4 separate regions of the Homo sapiens genome follow, and all the other regions are linked to region 1. The links are contacts of gene promoters, found by promoter capture Hi-C in blood cells and fetal thymus (Javierre and others, 2016). All regions are on one chromosome and are shown on one strand. The core of a region is centred on a gene start or on the middle of the fragment in contact, and the rest is flanking DNA. Distances in the headings are between cores, read along the strand shown. Region 1 holds the start of C2orf68 (chromosome 2 open reading frame 68). Region 2 overlaps POLR1A (RNA polymerase I subunit A). Region 3 overlaps POLR1A (RNA polymerase I subunit A). Region 4 holds the start of RETSAT (retinol saturase).

What was found. Contacts are between HindIII fragments. The CHiCAGO score rates a contact against its expected background, and 5 or more counts as called.
Region 2: a fragment that was not itself captured here is called in contact with the fragment with the promoter of C2orf68 in region 1 in 3 of 17 cell types (M0 macrophages, erythroblasts and M2 macrophages); the score reaches 5.8 in M0 macrophages.
Region 3: a fragment that was not itself captured here is called in contact with the fragment with the promoter of C2orf68 in region 1 in 1 of 17 cell types (neutrophils); the score reaches 6.1 in neutrophils.
Region 4: a contact is called between the fragment with the promoter of RETSAT here and the fragment with the promoter of C2orf68 in region 1, in 1 of 17 cell types (erythroblasts). The highest score is 5.0, in erythroblasts.

What each region holds. Positions count from the first base shown.
Region 1 is chr2:85,610,615-85,613,723 of GRCh38, reverse strand. It overlaps C2orf68 (chromosome 2 open reading frame 68), which reads left to right and starts at 1,658. Exons shown (of 4, transcript NM_001013649.4): 1 at 1,658-1,846; 2 at 1,938-2,056. The coding sequence starts at 1,740. It also overlaps a transcript of USP39 not described here. RefSeq lists silencers at 1,158-1,330, 1,817-1,886, 1,506-1,887 and an enhancer at 1,317-1,546. The HindIII fragment of the contact is 26,854 bases long and covers 1-3,109 here.
Region 2 is chr2:86,062,423-86,065,531 of GRCh38, reverse strand. POLR1A (RNA polymerase I subunit A) reads left to right here. Exons shown (of 34, transcript NM_015425.6): 14 at 67-258. Among named protein-coding and RNA genes, the nearest start is that of POLR1A, 42 kb to the left of the region's middle. The HindIII fragment of the contact is 7,905 bases long and covers 1-3,109 here.
Region 3 is chr2:86,040,668-86,043,776 of GRCh38, reverse strand. It overlaps POLR1A (RNA polymerase I subunit A), which reads left to right. Exons shown (of 34, transcript NM_015425.6): 23 at 582-803; 24 at 1,674-1,888. Among named protein-coding and RNA genes, the nearest start is that of POLR1A, 64 kb to the left of the region's middle. The HindIII fragment of the contact is 5,837 bases long and covers 1-3,109 here.
Region 4 is chr2:85,353,278-85,356,386 of GRCh38, reverse strand. RETSAT (retinol saturase) reads left to right here and starts at 1,859. Exons shown (of 11, transcript NM_017750.4): 1 at 1,859-2,051. The coding sequence starts at 1,880. It overlaps ELMOD3 (ELMO domain containing 3), which reads right to left and starts at 1,618. Exons shown (of 14, transcript NM_001135022.2): 1 at 1,558-1,618; 2 at 1,217-1,311; 3 at 789-832. RefSeq lists enhancers at 1,162-1,221, 856-1,355, 1,392-1,791, 1,356-1,857. The HindIII fragment of the contact is 19,367 bases long and covers 1-3,109 here.

The sequences.
Region 1 (3,109 bases), core at 409-2,908:
CCCCACAAAAATCAACTGATCTCTCGGTCACTATAGATTAGTTTGCACTTCCTAGAGTCTCATATAAATGGAATCATACAGAGTCCCTGGCCTCTTTCACTGGGCATATTTATTTTATGATCCATCCATGTTGTTGAGCTACAGATCTTCCTTTGGATTGCTCAGTAATATTCCATCGTGTGGCTGGACCACCATTGGTCCCTGTTTTTTGTTTTTGTTTTTTGTTTTTTGATTTGGAGGTTGGACTGCAGTGGCTCGATCTCGGCTGACTGCAACCTCCGCCTCCCGGGTTCAAGCGATTCTCCTGCCTCAGCCTCCCAAGTAGCTGGGATTACAAGCACCGGCCATCAAGCCCAGCTAATTTTTTGTATTTTTTTTTAGTAGAGACGGGGTTTCACCATTTTGGCCAGGCTAGTCTCGAACTCCTGACCTCTTGATCTGCCCGCCTGGGCCTCCCAAAGTGCTGGGATTACAGGCGTGAGCCACCACGCCCGGCTCTTTCTTTCTTTTTTAATGTATTTTTTTCTTGTAGAGACGATGTCTCGCTGTGTTGCCCAGGCTGGTCTCAAATTCCTCCCTCCAGCGATACTCCCACTTCGGCATCCCAAAGTTTTGGAATTACAGACATGAGCCACTGCATCCAGCCGTTTGTCCCTGTCCTAATCATGAATTCCTGATTTTGACTTTTGTAAAAGGACTTGAGAATTTTACACGCTGTGACGTGAACCCAGTGGTCAGAAAAAATAGAAAAAAAAAAAAAAGGGGCCGGGCACGGTGGCTCATGCCTGCAATCCCAACACTTTGGGAGGCCGAGGCAGGCGGATCACCTGAGGTCAGGAGTTCGAGACCAGCCTGGCCAACGTGGTGAAACCTTATCTCTACCAAAAATACAAAACTTAGCCGGGCGTGGTGGCACGCGCATGTAGTCCCAGCTACTCGGGAGGCTGAGGCAGGAGAATCGCTTGAACCCGGGAGGCGGAGGTTGCAGTGAGCCGAAATCACGCCAATGCACTCCAGCCTGAGCGACAGAGTGAGACTCCTTCTCAAAAAGAAAAAAAAAAGGAAAAATAAATAAAAAAGAAAATAATACACCCGTAGGTCCCTCAAAAACCCTGGGTCCTCCCGCGGGGACAGTTAAGCCATCGGCGCCGTGAGCAGGAGGCAAGCCGGGCCAGGAGAGCCTTCGCGGCGCCTGCGGCCTGGGCGCCGCTGTTGCCCTGCCTGAGCACTTCAAGGCCTCACAATCCATTTGAGGTAGGTGCTCTAGGTGTTCCCATTTACTAATGAGGAAACTGAGAAGTGGCAGCGTTACACAGTCAGCCAAAGTCACGCAGATGGCGATGGATTGCACAGCATCCTATTACCAGAAAAAAGATGGGAAGGCACCGCCGTAAGCATCGAGTTGTGTTATAGATGATTTGCATTTTTCTGAAGGTTCTGGTATCAGCTGTAAGCCGAAGTCCTTGTTTCCTATTGATATGTTACGAAAAAACAAACAAAAAAAAACAAAAACAAAAGCCCTCCGTCCGGGGGGTGGAAGTCAAGCATACCCTACTCCACCCGACCCGACCAGACCCGAAAACTCCGTGCGCTGCATCGCTTGGCCAGGCCGGGGCCTCCCAGACCGGAAGTCAGGATGCGGGGCCGGAAGCTGAGCAAGGGGCGGCGCGGAGCTCTGTGGGCGGGTGGCTGTTGTTGGGGCCGTCGAGGCGGCGGCGACTCTGCGTCCCCGGCTCCTGATGGAGGCGGGGCCGCATCCCCGGCCGGGGCACTGCTGCAAGCCTGGGGGGCGGCTGGACATGAACCACGGCTTCGTGCACCATATCCGACGGAACCAGATCGCTCGGTACCGCCCCGCCCTGCGCCGCCGCCGCCACCACTCCTGGCCTGGCCTGGCCCGGCCCGACAGTCCCTGACTCCCGCTCGGCTCCCCGCAGGGACGACTATGACAAGAAGGTGAAGCAGGCGGCCAAGGAGAAGGTGAGGAGGCGGCACACGCCCGCGCCGACGCGGCCCCGCAAGCCAGACCTGCAGGTGTACCTGCCGCGACACCGAGGTGAGGCCGCCCGCCCCGCCTGCCTCCAGCCCGCGCGCTCTTCCTGCAACGCACTCCCCTTCTCTATAGGGAAAAACCACTTCTTACTCCTAAGGTTCAGCTCATCTCGTCTCTTTCCGGAACCTCCACCTCAGCGCTCCCAAATCTCCGCTGAATGATTCTCACCAAGAACTGGGACGACTCATAAGCCCCCAGTTAAGCATCGCTGTCAGAGTATCGGGGAGCCAGCAAGAAGTTTATCTGCCGGTTTGCCCCACCGTGCTGTATTTTAGTAAGGTGCTCCGCTACCTAGCAAAGAGAAAGTCTGGCACAGCGATGAGCGACCAGCACATAATTGCGGAATGAACCCAGTAAATGGCCTTTCCCCAGCTTCTCTGCTACCTAGAGATCACACTGGTTAATATATGACGGTCAATTTTTGTTAAGCATTATTACTTTTTTTAAAATGTTTTTATTTTATTTTTGAGACTAGGTCTCTGTCGCCCAGGCTGGAGTGCAATGGTGCGATCTGGGCTTACTGCAGCCTTAGCCTCCCGAGTACCTGGGACCACAGGCGTGTGCCACCACACCGGTTAATTTTGGTATTTCTTGTAGAGAAGGGGTTTCCCCGGCTGGGCGCGGTGGCTCTCGCCTGTAATCCCAGCACTTTGGGAGGCCGAGGCGGGCGGATCACGAGGTCAGGAGATCGAGACCATCCTGGCTAACATGGTGAAACCCCCGTCTCTACTAAAAATACAAAAAATTAGCCGGGCGTGGTGGTGGGCGCCTGTAGTCCCAGCTACTCGGGAGGCTGAGGCAGGAGAATGGCGTGAACCCGGGAGGCGGAGCTTGCAGTGAGCCGAGATCGCGCCACTGCACTCCAGCCTGGGCAACACAGCAAGACTCGGTCTCAAAAAAAAAAAAAAAAGAGAGAGAGAGAAGGGGTTTCTCCACGTTGTCCAGGCTGATCTCGAACTCCTGAGCTCAGGTGATCTGCCCGCATCGGCCTCCCAAAGTGCTGGGATTATAGGTGTGTGCCACTACCTTTGTTAGGCATTAGTGAAAGTGCTTTTA
Region 2 (3,109 bases), core at 311-2,810, 450 kb before region 1:
TTAGGGATTAGAGTTTGACTTAAGATTTATTTTCATTCTTCTTGTGTTGTCTGTTTTGGCTTATAGGATGGCCAACCATTGGCGGGACTGATCCAGGATCACATGGTTTCAGGGGCAAGCATGACTACTCGGGGTTGCTTTTTCACCCGGGAGCACTATATGGAGCTGGTGTACCGAGGACTCACGGACAAAGTGGGGCGCGTGAAGCTCCTTTCTCCTTCCATCCTGAAGCCCTTTCCGCTGTGGACAGGAAAACAGGTAATTGGGAGAGAACAGCCAGTGTATGTAACAAAAGGAAATAGGCCACTCATGTAAAAGGTTTTATTCTCAGAAGAGTCCAGACCAGAGACAGAGAAATGGCTAAGCCAGCAATAGTCTGACTTTCTTTCCCCTTTGTTTGGGGTTCCTGAGTCTGGGTGGCTTCAAGGGAGTGTCTAGCAAGAGTAGACTGCATAGTAGCCTGGTGCAGTGGCTCACACCTGTAATCCCAACACTTTAGGAGACTGAGGCGGGCAGATCACCTGAGGTCTGGAGTTTGAGACCAGCCTGGCTAACATGGTGAAACCCTATCTCTACTAAAAGTACAAAATTAGCTGGGCGTGGGATTAGTGCCTGTAATCTCAGCTACCGGGAGGCTGAGGCAAGAGAATCGCCTCAGCCTGAGGCAAGAGAATCGCTTGAACCCAGGAGGTGGAGGTTGTAGTGAGTCAGGATCAGCCACTGCACTCCTGCCTGGGCAACAGAGTGAGACTCCGTCTCCACAAAAAAAAAAAAAGTAGACTGCATAGTTTCTGTCCTTTGCTTCTAACTTAAATTTGGTGTCCTCATAATACAAATATGGTGGTAATAGGCAGTGGTGCTGGTGGAGTAATAGTAATATTTGTTGGGAAGTTCCATATGTTTGCTGAGTGCTTTAGACACATTATCTGATTTAATACTCACGACTAATCTGCAATGCAGACACCATTATTATCTCCATTTAGGAGATGATAAATTACATGCCCAAGACTACAGGAGACAGATCAAACCCAGGACTTTTCAACCCCAGAAGCATCATACCATACTTCCTCTCAAAGTAACCAAATTACATGATATGTGGCGACCAAATAATGAAAAACAGTAAAATATGTTCTTCTGCTGTTGCCTGAGTATCCAAGTTCAGCCTTAAGGATCAACTTCTAATTGGCTATGTGATCTTAGCCCTGTGTGTCTCAGTTCCTCATCATTTCCTGGGACAGTAGAAATTAACTTGCTAAGCTAAGTTCTGATTCTAAACATGGTTTTTCTCTTTGAAACCAGACTAACCCACAAACAAATTCTTGCATAGTGTAGTCACTCTTGCCCTTTTCACCTGTTGGCAAAAAAAAAGCCCGTACCAACCTTTAGAGACACACTAAAAAATCTCACCCGTGACAGAAGCAAAACCTGGACCTATTTCCTAATTTTATTTGGTACAGAGGATTTTAAAAGGATTCAAGATGTGGCCTCTGGGCATAATGGAATTTGGAAATCAGCAACCAAGATATTTGGAAAAGCCCTCAATATTTGTACTTCTAAATAACGTACTTCTTAAATAGCTCATGGGTCAAAAGAATCTAAAGGGAAATTAGAAAGCATTCTGAAGTAGATGAAATGAAAACACAACAAAATTTGTGGGATGCCACTGAAGCAGAACTTAAGGGGGAAATTTATACATAAAATGCCTAGGTTGAAAAGAAGAAAAAGGGTCCCAAATCAATGACTTCAGCTTCAAGTTCATGATCTCTAAGGTCTCTTCCTGCTCTCCAGTTCTTAGTCTGTGGACCTGGAACTTGATTTTCCTTTTTAAGCCAACCTTGCATTCCTGGATAAACCTTCCTTGGTCGTGAGGTATTATCCTTTTTATATATTATTGAATTCAATTTGCTAATATTTTGTCTAGAATTTTTTTACTTCTGTGTTTGTGATAGATATTGGTCTGTAGTTTTATTTTCTTATAATATGTTTGTTTGGTTTTGGTATCAGGGTAATCCTGGCCTCACAGAATGAGGTGTTAGGAGGTATTTCCTCTGGTTTTCTGTAAGAGTTTGTGTAGTACAGTATTCATATTATTTATTCCTTAAATGTGTTGTAGAATTCACCAGTGAAGGCATCTGGGCCTAGAGTTTCTTTGTGGCAAGGTTTTCTTTCTTTTTTTTTTTTTTTTTTTTTTTTTTTGAGATGGAGTTTTGCTCTTGCTGCCCAGGCTGGAATGCAATGGTGTGATCCTGGCTCACCGCAACCTCCACCTCCCAGATTCAAGCAATTCTCCTGCCTCAGCCTCCCAAGTAGCTGGGATTACAAGCATGCGCCACCATGCCCGGCTAATTTTGTATTTTTAGTAGAGATGGGGTTTCTCCATGTTGGTCAGGCTGGGCTCGAACTCCCAACCTCAGGTGATCCACCAACCTTGGCCTCCCAAAGTGCTGGGACTACAGGCCTGAGCCACCGCGCCCAACCTGTGGGAAGATTTTCAATTAAAATTTCTATTTCTTTAGTAGACATAGAGCTATTTTTGGTTATCTACTTCTTGAATGAGCTTTAATTGTTTGTGTTTTTCAGGGAATTTGTCCATTTCATCTAAGTTACTGAATTTATAGGCACAAAGTTGTTCATAATGCTCCTTTGTTGACCTTTTCTATCTGTATTGCCTGTAGTGGTGTCACTTCTCTCATTCCTGACATTGATAATTTGTGTCTTCTCTTTTTTCCTGATCAGTTTGCCTAGAGGTTTATCAGTTTTATTCTCAAAAAAAAGTCTTTGGTTTTATTGACTTTATTTTTCTGTTTTCTGTTTCGTTGATTTGAACTTTATCACTCCCTTTCTTCTGTTTACTTTGGTTTAATTTGCTCTTTTTTTTTTCCTAGTTCTTTAAGTTCTTTAAGTCAATTTGAGACCCCTTTTCTTCTTTCAATGTAGGCATTTTATGTATAAATTTCCCCCTTAAGTTCTGCTTAAGTAGCATCCCACAAATTAATATGTTGTGTTTTCATTTCATCTACTTCAGAATACTTTCTAATTTCCCTTTTGATTTTTTTTTTCAATCCATGAGTTATTTAGAAGTATGTTGTTCAGTTATTTAGAAGTACAA
Region 3 (3,109 bases), core at 451-2,950, 430 kb before region 1:
AGTATCAAAGCATAAGTAAACAGTCGGTGAGTGGCAGAGCCAGCATTTGAACATGGGCCCGTCAGACACAAACTCATGATTTTCATTGTATACCTTAATGCCCTTGTAGTGACCATCACTGTTGACTGGGCAGTCACCCCATTTGCAGATAGGGAAACTGAAACCGATGTGACCTGTCTAAGGTCATCAAGCTGATGGTAGAATTGAGGGTTGTGCTCTGGTGCTGAGTCCTTTCCATCCTGGTTCCTATCCCTGAGCTTGGCCATCACTCTTCCCCTCTTCCTTTCTTCCCAGAAACTCCCTTGTGCTCCTGGAGGGGCTCTGAGTGTGCTGCTTTCTTTCCTGTGTCTCCCTCTGCTCCCAAGACCATTGGTTCCCAAATCTGGTTTGCACAAAGTGAGGGCCCTGATTAACAATGGATGCTCAGCCTCTCTGAGAGTGGTGCTCGGCCCCATCATGAGGGCTCCACACCAGCCACCTGGGTCCCCTGAATTTGTGCTCCATGGCCCTCTTGTCACGCCCTCATCTCTTTGATCTCATGTGTGTGATTTGTTTGTTTGTTTTTTTGTTTGTTTGTTTAGGTGATAATGAAATCACAGCATCTCCATGAAGTTTTATCCAGAGCAGATCCCAAAAAAGCTCTCCACCACTTCAGAGCTATCAAAAAATGGCAAAGCAAGCACCCCAACACCCTGCTGAGAAGAGGCGCCTTCTTGAGTTATTCCCAGAAAATTCAGGAAGCTGTGAAAGCCCTGAAACTTGAGAGTGAAAACCGCAATGGCCGCAGCCCTGGGACTCAGGAGGTGATGCAGGGAGGTGGTGTCCTTAATGTCCAGCACGTCCAGGCTTAGTCAGTGGGTGAGGGATGAGGGGCTGTTTTCCTAAGAGAAGGTAGAATCATGAACTCCAGCTTTGTTCACCGTCAGTCAGAACAGAATGGCTCTCAAATGGGAATGTAAGGTGGGGACTCTTAACAAGGGTGTAGGCAGGGTTTGGGGGGACTAACTGGGGCCTGTGACTTCGGGGTTCCCCGCGATCCCAGGTGTGAAGGAATGGGGAGCAGTCATGAGAAACGGAGAGGACGACTATGTGCTAGGGCCACTGGACAGAGCCCTGGGTAGAGACCCACTAGAGGGGGGTTGAGGATAAATACCAGGATCCCCTTCCTCCTGCCTTTCCCTCTGCTGCTGGTGCCTCCCATCAGCCAAGCACACCTGGGAGCTGGAAGCAGGGGATCTCTTTGAAGCAGTCACTTTGGGACAGCCTTGAGGGCACAGAGCGTGTGAAAGAGCCTGGATCCAGAAATAACCATGGATCCAGCACAGTGACTGCATCCTAGCTGGCCTGAGACAGTCGTGGCTTTGCCTCTTGTCCTAGCCTAATCATAACAGTCTCCTGTTTCACTCTAAAAGAAGCCCAGTTTGCTCAGTAAATTACATGCTTGCCCTCCCTGGGCTTGAATGGGCCAGGATGAAGAGCTGCTAGGCTTATAGTCAAGCAGGGTGCCCTAGGACAGGTTGAAGTCTCTCCCCATTTTAAATGGGGAGATGGTTTCTCATTGCAATCAGGTTTCTTTCTGTCTCCCTTTATTCTCATTGGAAGCCAATGCTTTTGATCCCTCTTATGCTACTGGGTATCCCTCCCACATAGCTGAGACCCATCCTTCTGTTCAGATGCTGAGGATGTGGTATGAGTTGGATGAGGAAAGCCGAAGGAAATACCAGAAGAAGGCGGCCGCTTGTCCTGACCCCAGTCTGTCTGTCTGGCGTCCTGACATCTACTTTGCATCAGTGTCAGAAACATTTGAAACAAAGGTTGATGACTACAGTCAAGAGTGGGCAGCTCAAACAGAGAAGAGTTATGAGAAATCAGAGCTTTCTCTCGACAGGTATTGACAGTGATTTGTTGCACAACATGTGCAGGAGAATCTGCCTCCTAGCCCCTGCCTCCTAGCCCCTGCCCTACTCACTCCGGAAGAGGGCTGCCTCCTGGGTTTGAGACTTCAGCTAGAGGGAGGGCAGTAAGACAGCCAGGGGCAACGCACAAGCCCCAAGGGCCCAGGAGTGAACAAGTGCAAGGGAGGCAGGAGTGGACACCCCCATCTGGGCCAAGATAGGGATAGTGGTCTGCTGGGAGGCTTGCAGGAAAGTCTGCTCTCTTGGGTTTGGTGTGGTGGGTGGGGCTGACTGAGAGTCAGGGAATCTGGTCACTGTTCACCTGCTGCCAACCGTGTGACCCAGGGCAGGTCATTCATGCCCAGGGACACCAGGTCTTAACTTCTCATGAGGCCTTGGATCCGATTACTCCAGTAATCCTTTGAGCTTTGGGTTCCCATTTGAAGGCCTCAGCTTGGACTAGGACAGACACACACACACACACACACACAGACACTGTAGCTCAGCGCGCGCGCGCACACACACACACACCTTTGAGCTTTGGGTTCCCATTTGAAGGCCTCAGCTTGGACTAGGACAGACACACACACACACACACAGACACTGTAGATCAGCACACACACACACACACACACAGACACTGTAGCTCAGCACACACACACACACACACAGACACTGTAGCTCAGCGCGCACACACACACACACACACACACACACACACACACACACACAGTGTAGCTCAGCGCTCCTAGTGGCTGTTCTTAACAGGGTCAGGCTTCATAGGAAAAATGGTTAGTAAATTACAGAATCGTGCGGCATGAATACTTCTGATGTGGTCTGCAGCCATTTGCACTAACTAAAAATATAAACACTCTCATCACCCCCATCCCCATAATGGCCTAGTGAACCTCTTTCTAATTTTTATAGCAGGAGGTTTAAACTGTCTCCAAATTGTCATAATTGAGAAGAAAGAATGGATAAAGGAAAAAGTGAATAATGAACCCAGAAATTCTCCTGCTTAGGGGGCTTGTGGTAACAGTCCCAGAGTGGATATGTGACATTCTGGGGGCAAACATGAGGAGTCCAAGCATGAATGTCTAGAGCTTCAGCCACCCAGCTGGGATCTGTGCTGTGTAATTTGAGGACATCTCAGGGTCACTGGTGGGAATTTGAAGATTAGAGGGATCTTTTGCCTAGGAAAAACGAGTCCAGAA
Region 4 (3,109 bases), core at 610-3,109, 260 kb after region 1:
AAAGGCGTGAGGCTAAAGGTGTCACCTTGGTGGGTGGTCTTAGCTGAAGTGCTCAGGCTTTGTTTAGGCCTCACACACAGGCTGGGTCAGGGGCTTATAATACTAGACCTGGTTCCAACAATGGTAGAAATTCAAAATGCAACACGATGTTCTAACCTTTCTCAGTTATCAGCAATACTGTGCATGTGGCAGCTGGCTAGCCAGTTTGGGCAATTCTAAGTCTTTCATCTGACATTGCTTCCCTCAGGAAAAGGGCTGGACAAGGCTCATACCTCATCACAGGGGAATTGGACATCCGGAATGTCTGTCACATCAAAAATTGCATCCTAAGTGGGCAGATGGCCCACACACAACTGACAATCATAGTTCACAACTTTGGGTGACTAAGGAAGGAGGGTAGCCTCTCTATGAGGTCAGCCCTCCAGGATGCCATAAAAACTGGCTGCTGGTGTCAGGATGCTTTGATTATTAACACTGAGAGGAAGAATACCTCCTGGCTCTTGGGCTTGACATGTGGCTCACTGTAATCCGGGGGACAGGGCAATGCCCCCTTAGTCCTGGCACCCCAGGAACTAAACTGCTCTCACTGTGGCCTCTGGGGCCTCAACATCTGCCTCCCCTTTCCTTTTCCTCCATCATGGCCTCCATGACAGCCTATGACAAAACACACATTGGCCAGCCTTGGCAAGGTGACAGGCGGGTATGGTAATAGCAATCTCAGGAGGGCTCTTCTGTTGCTGTGTAGAAAATGAACCAAGTAGCATAGAATCGTGACCAGCTTTCCACACCTGGCTGGAGCACTCCTGGGGCCTTCAGTAGGGACAGTTACTATCTGTAGCAGAGAAGAAAAGAGCAACAATTCCATTAAACAAGGAAGTACTCAAAGGCAAATTCCTGATAGTTGGACCTAAGGAAACGGCCTTCCTGTAAAAATGGATCCTTCTCCAATCAAGTATTCATTATGCACCCTCTTTAGGCAAGGAGGGGGTATGATTCTTCAACTGCTTGCTGGAGGTTAGATTCTCTGCATAGGAATTTAAATTAGATGGGCCCTTAGCTGATCCTTTCACCATGCTTGTCCATGGGCGGCTCCCCGTCCCCCAGGTTCCCCACGGATGGGGTGTCATTAGGGACCCGCCATAGAGGACTCCGTCCCAGGCGGGCCCCCAGGACAAAACTATGGGCCACTTTGAGGGGCACAGAGACAGACGCTCACCGGTTGTGATGCGCAGGTAACAGAGAGCTCAATTCATCATGACAACCAGTCAGACAGGGGCTGTGAGCAGCCTTTGGACAGAACTTTCGCATAGCCTGGAGGCGTAAGACGAGGAAAGCAATTTAACACCTCAAGGCAGCGAGTCCAGGGCAGAGCCAGGACCAGAACTCAGGACTCCTGTCTCCCAGTCGGGATTCTCTTTCAGTCTTACAACTCTCGGCCTTGTCTCGCCCCATAGTGATAATTTCCACCGGATCACATTCTCCCTCCCTCCTCAGGCCGGCTGCTAGCTCCGCACAGGCACCAACCACTCCCCTTGGCAAGTGTTAACGCGTTCTCACCGTTAAAAGAGCTTTCCAAACTTGGGGGTCCCGCCGCCTCGGCTAGGCCTCATCTGCTCATGCGCACAGCCGCTTCCGTGCCGGCTCCCCTGGCCCCGAGAACTACATTTCCCAGTAGGCAATGGAAACCCAAAAGAAGTACGGAGAGCCGGGAGGGTCAATCATCACCTGAGAGTTGGCTCTTCGCTGGCTGGCTGGTTAATCAGTGCTCAAAGCTGCCTCCGCCTCCTGACTGGAGAGCGAACTAGCCCGGGCGGAGCCACAGTCCTAGAGGCTGAGCGCAGTCGGAGCTGTCCCATTTACCCGACCCGACGCCGGCGTGATGTGGCTTCCGCTGGTGCTGCTCCTGGCTGTGCTGCTGCTGGCCGTCCTCTGCAAAGTTTACTTGGGACTATTCTCTGGCAGCTCCCCGAATCCTTTCTCCGAAGATGTCAAACGGCCCCCAGCGCCCCTGGTAACTGACAAGGAGGCCAGGAAGAAGGTTCTCAAACAAGGTAGCAGGAGGGACCCTGGGGTCCGGGGCTGCACTCGAGGCTTTCTCACAGATTTGGGTTCTCATTTTGCCAAGGCAGCCGCTACCAGACGTGGGCCTTAGTTTCCCCATATGTAAAGTACTAGGAGGGCTTCCTTGCACGTGGAGGAGCCCCGCTTTAGTGTGCAACACTGTCGATAGCCTTTGCCCTAGTAGGCCCCGGGAATAGTAGTCCCAAGGGTGTGGTCATTGTCCTTGGTTTGCAAGGTGTTGGCACCCGCCCTGCCACTTGTAATCCCCGTGGCTCGTGGAACTGATAATCCCCGTGACTCATTCCTCCACTTGGTTCCAGGACCTTAACTTTTTCACCTACCCTCCCATGCGAGCTCAGGGGTGTGGGGGAGCAGCACAGAAATGCGTAGGAAATTGCGTTTTGCCCGTCCGGTGATTTAACAGGCTTTGCATGGTCCCAAATCGTAAGGATTGAACCCTAGTTCTGAAACATTGGCAGAGGTTCAACAAGGCGCCTCAGGCTCAGAGCCTGCTCTCCACTCTCATCTTTAAAACATATTTTGTGGTTGCTTCTAGAGTTTAAAGAGTTCTGCTGCTTTAAAAAATAATGGATCACCTGTTTGATCTACGGAGTCCCTCTCACTTGTAAATTTTAGAATTCTCCGTGTCATATCTTGCTACACAATCGGAGACAGTACTGTTCTAAGTGGAAGGACTAATCATCTGGACTTCTGAGAACTGAGTTTTAGCTTGGACTCTGTCACTAATTTGCTGCATAACCATTAGCACCTACCTGGGCTGGTCTAAAAATGAGATGACTAGCTTAACTGCTTTTCAAACCGGATTGTGATCTATTAGTGGGCTATGAAATCAATTTAGTGAGTTGCAACTGGCATTATTTATTTATTTATTGAAACAGAGTCTCGCTCTATTGTCCATGCTAGAGTGCAGTGGCGCGATCTCCGCTCACCGCAACTTCCGCCTCCTGGGTTCAAGTGATTATCCTGCCTCAGCCTCCCGAGTAGTGGGCATGCCCAGCTAATTTTTGTATTTTTAGTAGAGACAGGG